2 separate regions of the Homo sapiens genome follow, and region 2 is linked to region 1. Evidence: promoter capture Hi-C in human tissues and cell types (Jung and others, 2019). All regions are on one chromosome and are shown on one strand. The core of a region is centred on a gene start or on the middle of the fragment in contact, and the rest is flanking DNA. Distances in the headings are between cores, read along the strand shown. Region 1 holds the start of LYPD1 (LY6/PLAUR domain containing 1). Region 2 overlaps NCKAP5 (NCK associated protein 5).

Region 1 (7,736 bases), core at 2,584-5,083:
ATGCCTTGCTTCCATGTGCACACACCCCGACCTAGCATCCTTCCCTTCAAAACTTTTTCCTTTGAGTTCATCGACTGCTTCTGTTTGTCAAACTTCACAATTGAAACTGCCTTATTACTTGATTCTGTCTCTACCTGTTGGGCTGTGACCTGTGGCCAGAGGGGCCTGGTTTGGAGACAAGGTACCTACCTTGTCTGAGCTTATAGAAAGCGAGCAACCTTAGGCCAGACACTTGAAGTCTGTGCTGAAGTTTCTGTGGATAAAATGGAAGTTAAAATGCCTGCTCTGCTTCTTTTACAGAGTGGTTTTGAGGACAGAATGAAGCAAGATGAAAAACAGCACTTTGAAAATGGAGTGTGTGGTATTCATCTTAGATACACTTTTAGAGAAGAAGAAATGTGTCTCAGAAAAAGGACCTCTTCTGACTCAAATTTAGCTTACATCCCCTTCTCAACCATATCCCAGGTGATAAAATATGACACCCAGGTAAGCAGTGGCCTTGTGGACTCTGAAGAAGTTCTTAACGTGTCCACGGCACATTCTCATTTTGTCTGGCTCTAAACTACTGTCTCAAGAAAGCTGCAAATATTTGAAAGTAACAATAAAGTGTTAACAGTAATTCTGACTAAAATCACAGCAGTCCCTCTGGTAGAAAGGCAGTAAATTCTTTGCTCAGGTAAAACGTAGGAAAGAAACACAAGTAGAAAAAAATCCCATTTGTTCAAATTATCCCTATCAATCTTAAGAATTATCGCCAAGTTTGTTTTGTTTTGCATCATTAATAGCCCAAATCCCACGTGCCAAAATAATGTTTACCGCATTTCTCGAGACAAGTTACCCTTGAGAGCCAGTATGTCTGAGGCTTCCCAGAAGAGTGATTTTGGTGCAACAAATAATGACCTATACAAACCAGCCCTTACAACTGCACACACACCACAACACAACACAGTGTCAAGCTAACATCTGCTTTCCAAATAACCATGAGGATAGCAATATGACATTTCCAGGCCCTTCTCTGAGAAGAAACGACTTTCCCAAGGTGTTGGCTTTGAAACTAGAGTCCTTGCATTGATTTGCCAGCGGGTAAAGGGAATCATATAACAGTTCTAATCACTTCACCGGGCTCTGCAGGCAGTTCACAGAACTAAAGGAAGTGGGGGCTTTGGTTCATTCACTATCAGCCATCAAGTTATGCTATTTCCCATCCTTTTAATATCCTTAAAATGGCAAGGTCTGTGTTTATGGTTTTGACCTTGAAACTGAAGTAACAGCTCTACCTATTCTCCCAAAGTTCCAGATATACTTTGGGGAACTTTGACTTCTGATAAGACAGCTGGGGTAGGGGGTGAGGAGAGGGTTGGAAAGTTCTACCTCAGTGAGAAGATTCTTGGTCAACTAGAGGGAGTGAGGGCTATCCCACAAGACCTCCCCTTCCCCCACAGGATGCTCAGGACTTCTTCTCAGCTAGCCAGCAGCTAAGCTGGTAGGGCTGAGAACGGCATTCCTTTGAAAGATCTTGGCAATTTGTGCCTGGAAGTTGATGCATTAGTTCTAAAATTAAACAAAGATCCTGTAGTGTTCTTCAAGGAAATATGGTGTGCCTCTATGACAAAACACATTTTTCAAGCTCTGACCTCTGGGAGCTTCAACTAGCTCCATATTTCAGGCTGACAATGCTCACAGGCTACTGTCTAGTTGCCCAAGCCAGGGCTGGTTAGCCATATATTTTCTACCTCCATCAGCTTTTAGCATAGGGAGGTGAAGGGAGTAAATAAAAAGAGGAGAGCCACTAATTTACATGCACTTCCCCTCCCAAGACCCTTGGGGAGAAGCCTTGGTAATTAACTCTAATGAGATTAAAGTAACTTGGAACTCTTCATTTTCCCAGCACTGTAAAACTAAATCTGCGATAACCAGTGTGTGGGCATTAAATCAAAGTCAGTCCTTTTTCCTGCTATTTAATGGCCCCCTCACTCCCACCCCACAGCCCAGGCTTAAGAGCGAGGGGGAGGGCTGCCAGGCTCTTACCGGCACTTTGCTCCATCACTTCTTTCTGACACATGTCTTGAACGTTCACCGTGCAATTCACAATGAACTCGGGGGAGGAGCAGTCGTTGTTCAGCTGGAATTCTTCACACTGGTAGCACTGGATTTGCAGCGCAAAGCCTGCGAGACAGACGCAGTCGGGTTCAGATCCGGCCCCCACAGAGCCCACCCCGGAAATCACGACCATCCCACGCCTCAGAGCCAGGCGGCTCCCAGCCTCTGGCAGGCTTAGACCACTCCTGGGTCTCCGGGTAGGGCTGGATGTGGCTGACACCGGCAGGGGGCGGCGCGGGTACCTAGGGTCCTACGGAAGAAAGTGGAATAGTGCCCGCCACCCCTGGACCCCGGCTCTAGACACAAAGCGCCCATCCATTACCACCCCAGGCCTTTTCCCAAGAAGTTGAAGGGAGGGTGGGGACGGTACCACCGCAAGAGTGAAGTAGCTCTGGAGATGTGCGTTAGCTCCAGCCTAAGCCAAAGGATTTGCCTAATTGCTAATTGGTTACAAATTACTTAATTACTATTTTGGCACCATTCGTGATTACATTCGCAGACGTCTTTTTAGTTTTTATTTATTTAATTTTTAAAGTCAGCGTTTCTGTGCCAGGGCTCTGAGGATCCCTGAGCGACCACCTGGGAACAACTTGGGTGGAGGTGCCAGACGCCAAGCGCTGCTGCGCCGCAAGTCCCCGAGCCCGGGTCGGCGGCCCTTCTCCGGGGCCGTCCCCGCGGCGACCCGAATGGCCACAGAGGGTGGGAAAGGGCGTTTGTGAGCGCGCGCACCCTGGATCCCCGACCCCGCAGCCCTTTCTTCCAGGCCCCGGCTTTCAGGACAACCGTTCGACTAGGGTCAGTGGTCGGGGTTCCAGCTCTGCAGAGCTTAGTCGGGAGCCAGTAGGCGAACTGGAGAGAGGACGCGAGACCTTTGCGCCTCTGGACGCTTCGGCCTGGCTGTTCTCGGTGTACGCGCTCCTGTCTAGACCCAACTACCCACGCTCCCGCAGCCCCACATCTATCGCACTCTGAGCGCAGCAACCCAGCTTCAGCGTGGCCGCAGGCTGCCTCGCGCATCGCTCACCTGTCGGCGGCGCCACTCCCACGGGGTGCCGGAGGCGCCAGACAACTTGGCAGGGTTCGGGAGATGTCGCCCCCTCTCCCTCGCCCAGAACCCAGCACCGCTCGGACCCTCCCTCCTCTCAAGCCCAGCTTCTCCCGACGGTGCAGCCGGACAAGCTGCAGCCCGGAGTCCCGCAAACCCGCCGCTCCCCGCTCTCCTCCTGCAGCGCGGGACTTGGACACTTTCCCAGCCTCGCGCCCCGGGGCACCAGTCGCGGCCGCCAACTCCCGCTGGGCAGCCCCAGCGCAGGGCTGGCCCCGAGGTGGGCGCCTTGGGGGCAAAAGGGCTGGCGGGTAGATGGATTGTGCGCACCTGGCCTCGGCTGCTGGCCTCTGGGTATTCTCACCTGGAAGCAAGAACAATCCGCAAAAAGTTGCCGCGATGCCTAGGACCCACATTCTCCCGGAGTCCCGGGGCCGGGAGAGGGCAAGCGCATCAGAGGAGGCGACAGCAGCGGAGGCTGCCCCGGCTGCAGCGGCTGTGGCTGCCGAGGCTGCTGGGGCCCGCGCTGCTGCCGCGGAGACGACGGTCGTAGCTTAGAGGAGCCGCAGGTGCCGCTCGCGGAGCCTGCATCGCCCGCGCTCGGGCTCCCGGCTGCGGGTCTCTGCTCCTCCCGCTCGCGCTCCCGGGCCGAGCACCGCGCCTCCGGAGTTGGCGGCTGAGACTGAAGGAACTACTGGCGATCGGGAGCACCCACAAAAGTCTCGCCTTTTCTCCCCACCTCCCACTCCAGGCATCACGTGACGGCTGCCGAGTTGGGGTGGGGGTGGCGGGCGGGGAAGGCTGGGACGGTCGCTTCACATCCCCACCCCCTTCCTGTCTTCCTCTTCTCCCGCCTCCGCACGTTCCTGGGAAAGGGGCGCCGGGGGGCGGGAGAGAACTGGTAGTTTTCTGAGATGGGGAGGTTGGGGGAGCGGCGAGGAGGGCGCAGCAGGTGCCGTGGGGACCTGCCGGGTGCGGACTAGGGTCTGAGGACTGCGTGCCCGGCTGGCCCTTCGCACATAGGAAGGCAGCCTCCCCACTCCACGTCCTCTGCGCCTTCCAGGACTGGTCGGTACCCCAGCGACTGGGTCCAGCCCACACAACTGAGGCTGTCCCGCTGCGGGCCGCGGGAGCCTGGCGCCCCGGGAGGCTGACAGGAAGGGCGCGCGTTCCCGTGCGCCTGGCAAAGTTCCACGCCCGCAGGCTCCGTAGGGTGTCCTGTGCAGCTGTGCCCCCTCTTCCTCCGCGAAGGCCTTCTGTCAAGAACCAGCTCGGCGTGGCCAATCTGGGTGGGGGTGTGGTGGGGACACTGCCTTAACTGTCTCACTTGCCCGGGCCGCCCTCCCTTCTCCCGCCTGCGCGCACCGCTGGAGGGTGCATTGACACCGCCCTGGTCGCCTAGCCTAGGAGAACGCCGTCCCGGGGACACCTGCCGTGAGGTCCTACCAGAAAGCAAATCAGGGTGAGGAAGAGGGTTGTTCTCCTCCATTCCTTGTCTCCCAAACGCCAGCCGGCTCCATTCTGCTTTCCCCAAAGCCACCGATTATTAGCACATACTCCCACGTCCTCTCCTGAAAGGCCATCCCAGCCTCGGACTCGGCCTCTGGCTGCTCCCCACACCCCTCAAATTCGTCTTCTTTCCGCAAAGTCCAAGTGACCCACCTTGCGGACTCCCGGGGATGCCCCGGTGCTATCTTCGCCTTCCTTCCCGAGCCTTGCAGCAGGTGGTGCGGGAGACCGCTTGCCCGCCGGAGTGCGTTGGTGCCCCCGCCCCCAATCCGCACATTCCCATCCCCTTTCCGCACATCCTTAGGGAGCATCCATTTCCGTGGAAATCGCCTCCTAAGCTTTAGCTCCTCTTCACCCTTTTCTCCCCCGGCCACTTCTGGGGGCAGCTCTCTCACGCCGGGACGCTGATCATTTATTTCTGCATCCTCCCAGCAGAGCTGGTCTGTAAAGGGGCTTAAATGACTTTCTTTGTAATTCCTCTGCAGAGATCGTTCCATATCTGCCTCAGGCTCCTTCTCTCCCTCCCTCCCTCCCTCTCCCCCTTCTTTCATTTCTATTTGGTTAACCCCTCGGGGAGACTGAAATGCTTTGACCATTACTCACCTGTCTGCAGACTCTGATCTTACAATTGGCTAAATTACTATCTCTGGAGCAAAAGGGCCAATTTATTTATTCCTTCTGGGAACCCATTGTAAGAGCACGTGTGAGTCATGATTCAAGTAACTGACTGGGCCAAAAGGTCCTTGAGCAAGTTATTTTCTGTTTTCAGAGGGTGCAAATGTGATATAACTTTTATTCAGAAAGGAAACAAAAAGATTTTTTAAAGTCTGAAAGACAAGGACATTTTACATAATTTTCATTTAAGATAAAATAAAACAAATTGCACAAATTAACCAAATAACACTGATCATACAATACTCTTTAAAGAAACAATTATGTGCTAAAGTAGCCATATAGATCCTAAAAATATTTCTATTGGGCCTAGTTTACAAGCTCCTGTACATAAGTAATTATAAATAGTTCACATCTAGAAAAAATACACATAACCTTTAAAATAGAATTTATCCTTACATATAAACAGTCTTTGTAGAAAAAAAAGGATATTAAAAAGAATTCTTCGTAGCACCATTAATTTTATTTTTAAAAGTGAACATTGCAAATAGAAATTTGTTTTCATTTTTAGAGTGCCCAGATTTTAATAAAAAGAGCAAGAAGATAAAAATCAAATAATATTCAGGATCATAGAGAAGCACTAAGTAAAAGACAATCTAAAGAAATGTCTGGAAGGAAAAACTGGTATTGGGAATAGAATTCGGTCATTTCTGATACAATGTCACACTCCCAATCAGTGTCCACACTTCAGGACCCTTTTCATTTTTCAGCAGAAGCAGAATGACACTTATTACTATCACCTGAATCTCTGGCAACGAATCTGAAATTACACTAAAATGAACATTTCCATCAAATTGAGATTTGTGAGATGGAGATGAGGAGGAACCCTCCGATTTTTTGGCAGGCCCTGTTGTAGGTTTACAGAGTGTACCCACAAACAATTTGAGGACCAGGACAACGAACTTCACAAAAACTTCAGTTGGGATTTTAAAAAATATATATTATCATCAACTTCTAAGACTTAGTACATTATTTCAAGAGCATGGCACTGATTCCATTTATTGCTGTCTTTTTTTGCTACAAATATAATTTCTCTTCCAAAAAATTTACAACTTCTGTACAAATATTCAAAAAAAGTGCAAAATTAAGGATTCTGTATCATAGATGTGTTTACGCTTAATCCTCTTGAAACACAATAAATGGAGTCTATCTTTATTGCCCTGTCAGAGAAATAAGCTCTGGTGGGTTGCCTGCTGTGAATTTGACAAGGAAGGCTCTGGTACTGCAATAGTTTATTGTTATCTCTATCAAGCGGTGCACCCCCCACCCCCCACCCATCATTTCTTAAGCGCTCCAGTCCCAGCTCACTAAGGGAAGAGATGTCCTTTATACATCATTTGAACCTTGACTGGCACAGGAAGAGAAGCTATCATATAAAGAATCACTCAAAGATTCCAAGTTGTCTACCCCAGGCCTATCTGAACTACTCAAAGATGTCTCTTCATTTTTTTCTTTTTCTTCCTTCTGTCCTTCAACCTTGTTCAGAGAGTTCTTCTCTTTTTCTAATAAAATCACAGTATTGCTGTTAAATTTATTGAATGACTCTAGGGAAATTTTCGATAATCTATTCTCGGGATCGTCTTTTGTTTCTTCAAGTTGTCTCAATTTCTGCAATAAAAAGAAGAAAATATTAGAAACATATTTCTTTGGAAAATCAAGTTATCCTATCTAATATTCAATTATTGTCTGTATAAAGTACAGTTTAAAGGGACAGAGAAAACCTACAAGTCTTTAATAATCTTCTAGTATAATTAGATGTAATAATAAAGCCAATTTTAGGGATAAATCAGGACTTTAATCATTTTACTGAGATAAATAGGTCCCAATTTGCAAATTAAGTGCCACTTAATTTCATTTTAAATGGATCCATTTGAAATTTGTTCAGGTAAAGTGCCTTATTTTTCTTCATCAAAGTTTCAAACTCCTCTCTTTCCTTGCTAAGTATTAGCTGTACTTTTTCTAAATATGAGTAGGTATTGAATTTCAGCCAGAAGTTATGGTAATATGTTTTTTTCTAATAAAAAAAAGACATAAAAATCCCCTAACTTGCCATTTTTGAATACATGTTAAGCTTGTTAGAAGCATTGCCATTTTAGTATTTTGTCCCTTTATAGGACTTAAGATATTTGAAAGAGATCTCCAGGTTTTTGGGTGTAGATCCCAGAAGGCCCAAGGGCTTAAAAATTAAAGCGGCAGGTGAACAGCTGAGTAACCCCTCTGCTCCAGAAGGTCTAGTAATACCAGTTTATACTGGGATATTACTGTTATTAATACCCTGTATGATGTATAAAGCACTGCACCAAATTCAATAATTATCATAGGTAAACCCTGTAAACATGAATATATTCGGTTGCTCAGTTGGCTCCTAAGGGCTAAGGTGAGGACAGAGGGAGGCACACTTGCGAAAAAC
Region 2 (7,736 bases), core at 2,716-5,215, 77 kb after region 1:
ACTAGAAATAGTAATATATGATCTATATATATATTTTGTTTATTGTGAGGTTTCTAACATATATAGAAGTAAAATATATAACAGCACAAAGGATGGGAGAGGTTATATGAAAATAGCCTGTAACATATTATGTAAAATAGATTATGATAAAGTAACAATGTAATAAAATTACATTTAAATGTTAAACCACTCACTAAAACAGGAAAATAGAGAGGTATAGCTAATAAGTTACAAGAGGAAATAAAGCAGAATCAATAAAAACATTCAAGTCAAAAAGGTAGAAAAGGAGGAAAATAGAAAGATGAGACAATCAGAAAATAAATAATTATATGGTAGATTTAAATCCAACCATTTAGATAATTACATAAAATTAAAATAGTCTAAACACTCCAATGAATAGGCTGAGATTGTCAGATTGGATAAAATAAAAATTGGTATACAAAATATACCTATTTATATGCTGTAGATAAAACATTCATTTTAAATATAAAAAACAGATAGGTGAAAAGTGGGACAGAAAAATATATAGCATGCAAACTCTAATAAAAAGAAAGCTAGAGTCACTATGCTAATATCAGAAAATGTAAACTTTAGAAAGGAAATATTACCAGGGATCAGAAGAAATATGTTATAGTTATAACAAGGTAAATTTATCAAGACATTATAATCCTAAATATGTATATCTATAACAATAGAACTCCAAAATTATGAAGCAGAAAACTGACAGAACTTAAAAGAGAAAATGTCAGATCTAAAATTAAAATGAAAAGTCTTCTCTCAGTAATTAATACAACAAGTAGAGAGACTATCACAAGGCATAGAAGATCTGAACAATATAATTTAAAACTTTGACCAATGTGAATTGTGCAGCACACTCTACCCATCAAGGGCAGAATGCATATTCTTTTTGGGTACACATGGATTAAGATAGACCATATCCTTCATTATAAAAGAAGTCTTAGAAAATTTAAAATCACCGAAGCCATGGAAAATATGTTCTCTGAGCATCAGAGAATTAAAAGAGAAGTCAATAGAAGAAAGATGTCTAGAAAAATTTCCAAACATTTACAACTTATACAGTACACTACTAAATTTCCTGTGTATTAAATGGAAAATAATATTTTGAAATGAATGAAAATACAATGGAATGCAGCTAAACAGTGCCTTAACAAAAATGTACAGCACAAATAAGACAGGCTTAAAATAAGTGCTCTGAGACTTCATTTTAAGAAACTAGAAAAATAAGAACATATTAAACATAAACTAAGCAGAAGACATAAAAATGAGAGCTGAAATTAAGAAAATTAAAAAAAAAAACAATTTAAAAATCAATGAAACAAAGAGCTGGTTATTTTACATGACTGATCCAACTGACAAACCTCCAACTAGATTGAGGAAACACTGACTAAAGGAGAAAAGACAAAAATTCTCAATATTATGAATGAATAAGGAGGCATCACTACAGATCTTCCAGTGAATAACAGATAATATGTATGTATGAACAAACTTAAGCCAACACATTTTACAATTCAGATAAAATGGAAATATTTTTTGAGAAATCCAACTACCAGAACTCACTCAAGAAAAAAGATAAACCAAATAGTCCTATATCAATTTAGGCAATTGAATTTGGAATTAAAAATATTTTCATGAAATATTATAGGCCTAGATGTCTTCACTATTGAATTCTTCAGAATTTATAAGGATGAAAAAAATGATCATTTCTTTATAAACTCCTTTAGAAAACAGGAGAAGAGCAAACACTTTCCACATCATTTTATAATGACCATATTACCTTGATATCAAACTCAAAGACATCATACATAGAGGAAAAATAGAGATCAATATAACTCATGAAAATGGATGCAAGAATGTTTAATAATTGATTTGCTATTAAGCATTTTTGCATAATTAAGCAAATTACTCACCAAGTGGCATTTACCCAAGGAATGTAAAATTTGTTTAGCATTTAAAAATAAATCAATATTAAAAGAAAAACCATATGATTATCTCAAAATACATAGAAAAAATCATTTAACAAAATTCAACATCCTTTCATGACAGACAAAAAAAAAACAGACACAGCAAACTAGGAATAGAAGAGAACTTTCTCACTCTGTACAAGTGTAAAAGGGCATCTACAGAAAACCTACAGATAACACCATATTTGAAAAAAATAGACTGAATGTTCCCCCACTAAGACTGAGAGCATGTTAAGAATGTTAGCTCTTACCACTTCCATTTAACATTATAGTGGAGGTTATAGCCAGTGCAACAAGGTAAGGAAAAGAAATAAAAGGCATAGAGATTAGAAAGAATAAAGTATAACTGTCTTTATTTGAAGACAATATAATTGTGTATGTAGAATACTCTAAGGGATCTCCCAAAACACTATGAGAACTAATAAGTGGTTTAGCAAGGTTACATCATACAAGGATAATTTAGCAAAATCAATTGTATTAGTATGTATTATAAATAATTGGTAATTAAACAATACTATTTCTAACAGCATCAAAATATGAAAAAAACACATCTTATAAAATGGTGAAACCTTGTACACTAAGAAGTACAAAACATTGTAGAGATAAATTTAAAGAATACTGACATAAATGGAGAGATCTGCCATATTCATGGATCAGAAGACTCAAAATTGTTCGGATATCAATTCTCTTCAAATTGATCTACAGATTCAATGACATTTTAATCAAAACACTATCAGGTTTTTTTTTAAAAAAAGACGTTGACACATTGATTCTAAAATTATGTGAAAATGGAAACATTTTCATAAAGTAAAACAAGGTCAGAGGTCTGACACTGCCTGAATTCTTTATAAGGCTACGTTCATTAAGAGAGTGTGGTATTGGGTAAGGATTTGCACATAGGTCAGTGGAACAGAACAGACATTCCGGAAATAGACTCACACATATATTTTCAATTGATTTCTGACAAAGATGACAATGTAATTTAACGGAAGAAAGATAGTGTTTCAACAAAAGGTATTAAAAACAATAAATACTCATCTGAAGAAAAGTAAACCCTTTTCTCACACTGTATATAAAAATTAACACATAAACCCAAACACAAGATCTAATACCACAAAACATCCAGAAGAAAATATCGGAGTATCTCTGTGGCCTTGGATTAGGCATCAATTTCTTAAATAGAGCAAGAAAACATGAACCATAAAATAAAAGCATGATAAATTAGATTTAATCAAAATTAAAAATTTTGTCTTCAAAGACACGGTTAAGAAAATAAAACGCAAGCAACATATACCCATCATGCAACACAGCTATAATACTCTTACTGTTATATGTCCCCCCAAAGACTTATACACAAATGTTTATAGCAGCTTTACACATAATAGCCCCAACCGGAAACTATCAAATTGTTTATCAGCCAGTGGATAAACAAATTGTGGTACATTCATACAACAAAATACTAATGGGCAATAAAAACATAAACAAACTAAAAAACCACTGATACAACATGGATGACCCTCAAAAGCATTATGCTTATTAAGAGAGGCCAAACCCCCAATATTATGTATTTTATCATTGATTCCATTTACATGAAATTCTAGCAAAGGCAAAACTACACTGATATAAAGCAGACCAGTGGTTCCCTGGGAGCAGTGGTATTAGGAGAGGGTGGGGTGTAAAAGGCGTGAAGGAGTATTTTGGGGTGATGAAAGTGTTGTAAATCTTGATTGTGATAGTGGTTATACAACTGTATACATTTACAAAAACTTACTGAACTATACACTTCAAAAGGATGAATTTTGTTATATATAAATTATACCTCCATGAACCTGCTTTTAAACATTTTATACTCAGCCTGCCAAAAAAAAAAAACAAAACAAAGAAAACCAAAACTGAAATCAAACAGTGAACTCTGGTTGAACACAGATGAGCAAAGGAACTGTGCTTTCCCCAGGGTACACGCTTGAATAATCATTAGAGGCATCTGAAAGTGGTGTTGGCAAGAAAGCATCTTCAAGAATCACCAGGGAACAAGACTGATGCTATTCCTTAATCCCAGATCTATGCAGGTCACAAAGGGCTTTGTGAACTCCTTTATCTTTTCAATAATCGTGGGAAATAGCTATTATTATCTTCATTTTATGGGGGAGGAAAGCAGAACTCTGAGAAGTGAAATGGTCACTTGAAGAAGTGCCGGCCTGACTCTGAAGCTCAGGATCTTCTTATTCATCAACCTCTTTCCAGTAGGGTGGGGATCCCTGGTTTCCATAGCTGTGTGCCCCAGACACTCCTCTGCAGAGAGGGCATCTAAGGAGCAGAGCCTCTGATTCAGGACCTTACAGGTAGCTGATATATGCTCTGTGCAAATGCATTTGACCTTCATTACACCTCACCTTTCTGCAGCATAACAACATTTGTTGATTATTTACTACTGGGCAGGTGCTTCACTTGTATTATGTCATTATGCAATGTGTAATGGACACATTTTTCCTATGAGGAAACTGAAGTTTAAGGAGGTCAATAACTTGCCCGTAGGCCTATAGCTATAAGTAGGAAAACCAGGATTTGGATTGGGGCCTGTGCAAACCTCAAAGCTTCAGGCTTGATTGCTACATGGTTATAGTACCTTCTTCTGTATTCAGTTTACCAAGCATTCTGAATCAGTAAGGATGCTCTTGGTGGAAAGTAACATGTTAAATGGTGAAGAATGGTATTAGCTCACAGTGCAGAATTAGAACAAGCTTCAGGGCTGCCTTAATCCAGGGCCTCCGCCTCTATTTGCCTGCAGTTCTCTTCACTGTGTCCCTGCTATGTATCAGTTTTATCTTCAAGCTGTTATCAGGAGGTTTTAGTAGCTCCATACTAGTCAGCCACACACTCCCATGTCTAAGGGAGAGAGAAGTTGACTCTCTGTGTGCCTTTCTCTATACCTCCAACCACCTGTCCCTTGAAAATTAGGCAAATAAGGTCATAAACTCATTCCCAGACAAATTTGTATCTCTTGGAAAATGCTGTTCACTGACTGGCCCAGGCCTGAATTTCTGAACCAATCACTGGCAGGGAAGATTGCCATGACCGCCTTCATCAGGCTTCACTCCTGGAGTGGAAATGTCTGCTACATTCTTTCTGAGTCATTACTTCAGTTGAGTTTATGGCAACACTTTTTCTATAAATGGAGTAATTATTTCCATTCTTCAGATAAAACAAATGCATAGAGAACATTATCTCTTAGGGACATGAGCACATATGCAGAAGCCGGAATTCAAAGCCAGGTCTTCTAACACCAAGTCCAGAGCTCTTTGCGCTGCTCTGCAACAACTATACCCGTACCCTACTCTCCCTGTTTCAAAGAAATTCCATTATGTTGCTAGGATATATTTATATTCTAGTTCCCTCCTTTGGTATTTATTTATTTTTCTAATTCAATTACTACTCCCTTATGGACTCTAGTGAACCATTTAAAACCAAGTCAGGATACTTTTTTTTTTTTGAGACGGATTCTCACTCTGTCACTCAGGCTGGAGTGCAATGGCGTGATCTTGGTTCACTGCAACCTCCGTCTCCTGGGTTCAAGCAATTCTCCTGTCTCAGCCTCCCAAGTAGCTGGGACTACAGTTGCATGCCACCACACCCAGCTAATTTTTGTATTTTTAGTAGAGATGGGGTTTCAGGGTCTTGAACTCCTGACCTCAGGTGATCCACCCCTACGGACTCCCAAAGTTGCTGGGATTACAGGCATGAGCCATCATGCCCAGCCGAAGTCGAGACTTTTTGTCAGCACTTCCTTTCTAATGAGGTTTTATAGCTATTATTTAAAATAAATACATAGTCTGATATAATTTAAAACCTATTTGGTGTGATATAGTTTTTTCTTTTTTTTCTTCAGTTTCATTTTCTTTCTTACTTTGGAGACAGTGTCTTGCTCTGTTGCCCAGGCTGGAGTGTAGTGGTACTGTATCTCCACTCACTACAACCTTCACCTCCCAGACTCAAGCCATCCTCCCACGTCAGCCTCCTCAGTAGCTGGGGCTACAGGTGCAAGCCACCATGCCTGGCTAATTTTTGTATTTTTTGTAGAGACAGGATTTTGTCATATTGCCCAGGCTGGTCTCGAACTCCTGGGCTCAAGCCATCCACCCGCCTTGGCCTCCCAAAGTGCTGGGATTACAGGTGCTGCACCCAACCGAATCTCACTTCCTAAAAGAAAATCTCCAGTTGAAAAAGATGGTCCTTTTAAAATTATTTTTCCACATTTACCATCAACGCACTACCAAGCCGTATCCCCAGGCCCTTTGGCTCGTCCTACCTGTATTCACTCTCTGTAACAGACCTAATGAGAAGAGGTTCTGGTCTTTGGTCTTTGAAAGCAAGAGTGTTATAAAGGTAGCATTTTTTTTTTTACTTAAAATACATATAAGACAAAATACATGGGGGAAAAAAAACCTTCAAATGTCTGCTTAGCCACGCAGGACAGTGTTTCAACTAGAGTTCTGATAGGAACGGAAATGGTTAACTGGCTGGCAGATGACTGTGACTTCAGTATCTAGCAGAGCCCTGGAGGCTAGTATAAAGGAGTCCCTTGCACTTTGGGCTCACTTTACATTTAAACTATGATGCCATGAGCCTCACCACCTTTTATCCTCCCAACAATCATGCTCCGAGTAAGGGAAGGCAAAAATCAGTATATCCAGCTTACAGATACAGAAACTGACGCAAAGGTTTGTTTAGTTAATAAGCGGCAAAACTATAACTGAAACTTACGTATGGTTGTTTCAGGATCATTTCTGTTTAGGGTGCATTATCTTGATTTCTGAAAAGCTAGGGAAGTTGTATGAAAGATGTCAAGGCTCAGGAGTAAGTTTAGCACCTCTGACCCTGCATTTTAAGTTTGAAACATGCAAAGTTGTTGTCTTTTTTTGTGTTCAGGAAGCGTAAGGAAGACTTGACAGAAAATTTGATGAGAAGATGCAACAATCATTTTGACATAAGGCCAATATATAAAAATTCAAAAGATGGTATCAAGAATATGTGTTGGTATCATCAAGGGTAACTGCCATAACTTGGCCTTCCAATAGAATGAGATCATTATATGTCAAATAATATTGAATGTGCTTTTGTTTCTTTAGAAAATGCGTATTTTATGGAGACAAGAAGAAAGAGATGAAAAGGCATTGAAGAAGCTTCTCATTTTTCCAAATGTGAAGACTTGGGAGTACAGTCTTGGGGGTGCTCCTAAAATAAAGAGCTGAGTTATAGCATGGGAAAAGATCATAATAGGAGGGTAACCATGGTGAGGAGAAGGCATGGGAGCTGAACAGAATAGTGATGCTGGAGGCCACATTAGAAATATCTAGTGCTAAGCATGAACATTTTGTTTGTGAGCAGAGTTTCTAGGAAGTAGAAAGGAAAACTACAGTGAGTACCATTGCTGAAGGTGGGATTAAGCAGAAAGCCAGGGCAGCTAAGAGAGCTTCAGGATAAAAGGCTGAAAATGTCTCTGCAAGCTCAAGCAAGTCACAGGACACTTAGGGAGCCCAAGCACACTTGGAAAGAATTAAGGATAGAGCCAAATGAGGAGGATGAGGCAGACTGAGCAGGTCTCCCTGTGGGGTCCTGAGGATTGCAGCAGAACAGAACATGCTAGGGCTTCAAAGGTTTGTGACAGCTACATCTGCTTAAATGTGCAGGGGAAGGAGAAACTTCACTCTGAAAGACACAGCTCAGCCCATTTATTTGTTTCAGAAGAAGTCCTCT

The links. Contacts are between HindIII fragments. The study calls those that stand out against the background at their distance.
Region 2: a fragment that was not itself captured here is called in contact with the fragment with the promoter of LYPD1 in region 1 in 2 of the 25 tissues and cell types used here (heart right ventricle and thymus).

What each region holds. Positions count from the first base shown.
Region 1 is chr2:132,666,372-132,674,107 of GRCh38, forward strand. LYPD1 (LY6/PLAUR domain containing 1) reads right to left here and starts at 3,834. Exons shown (of 3, transcript NM_144586.7): 1 at 3,510-3,834; 2 at 2,029-2,166. The coding sequence starts at 3,561. NCKAP5 (NCK associated protein 5) reads right to left here. Exons shown (of 20, transcript NM_207363.3): 20 at 5,417-6,934. The coding sequence ends at 6,918. RefSeq lists an enhancer at 2,697-3,660. The HindIII fragment of the contact is 6,763 bases long and covers 1,076-7,736 here.
Region 2 is chr2:132,743,330-132,751,065 of GRCh38, forward strand. All of the region lies in intron 16 of NCKAP5 (NCK associated protein 5), which reads right to left. Among named protein-coding and RNA genes, the nearest start is that of LYPD1, 77 kb to the left of the region's middle. RefSeq lists an enhancer at 3,846-4,015. The HindIII fragment of the contact is 3,953 bases long and covers 1,990-5,942 here.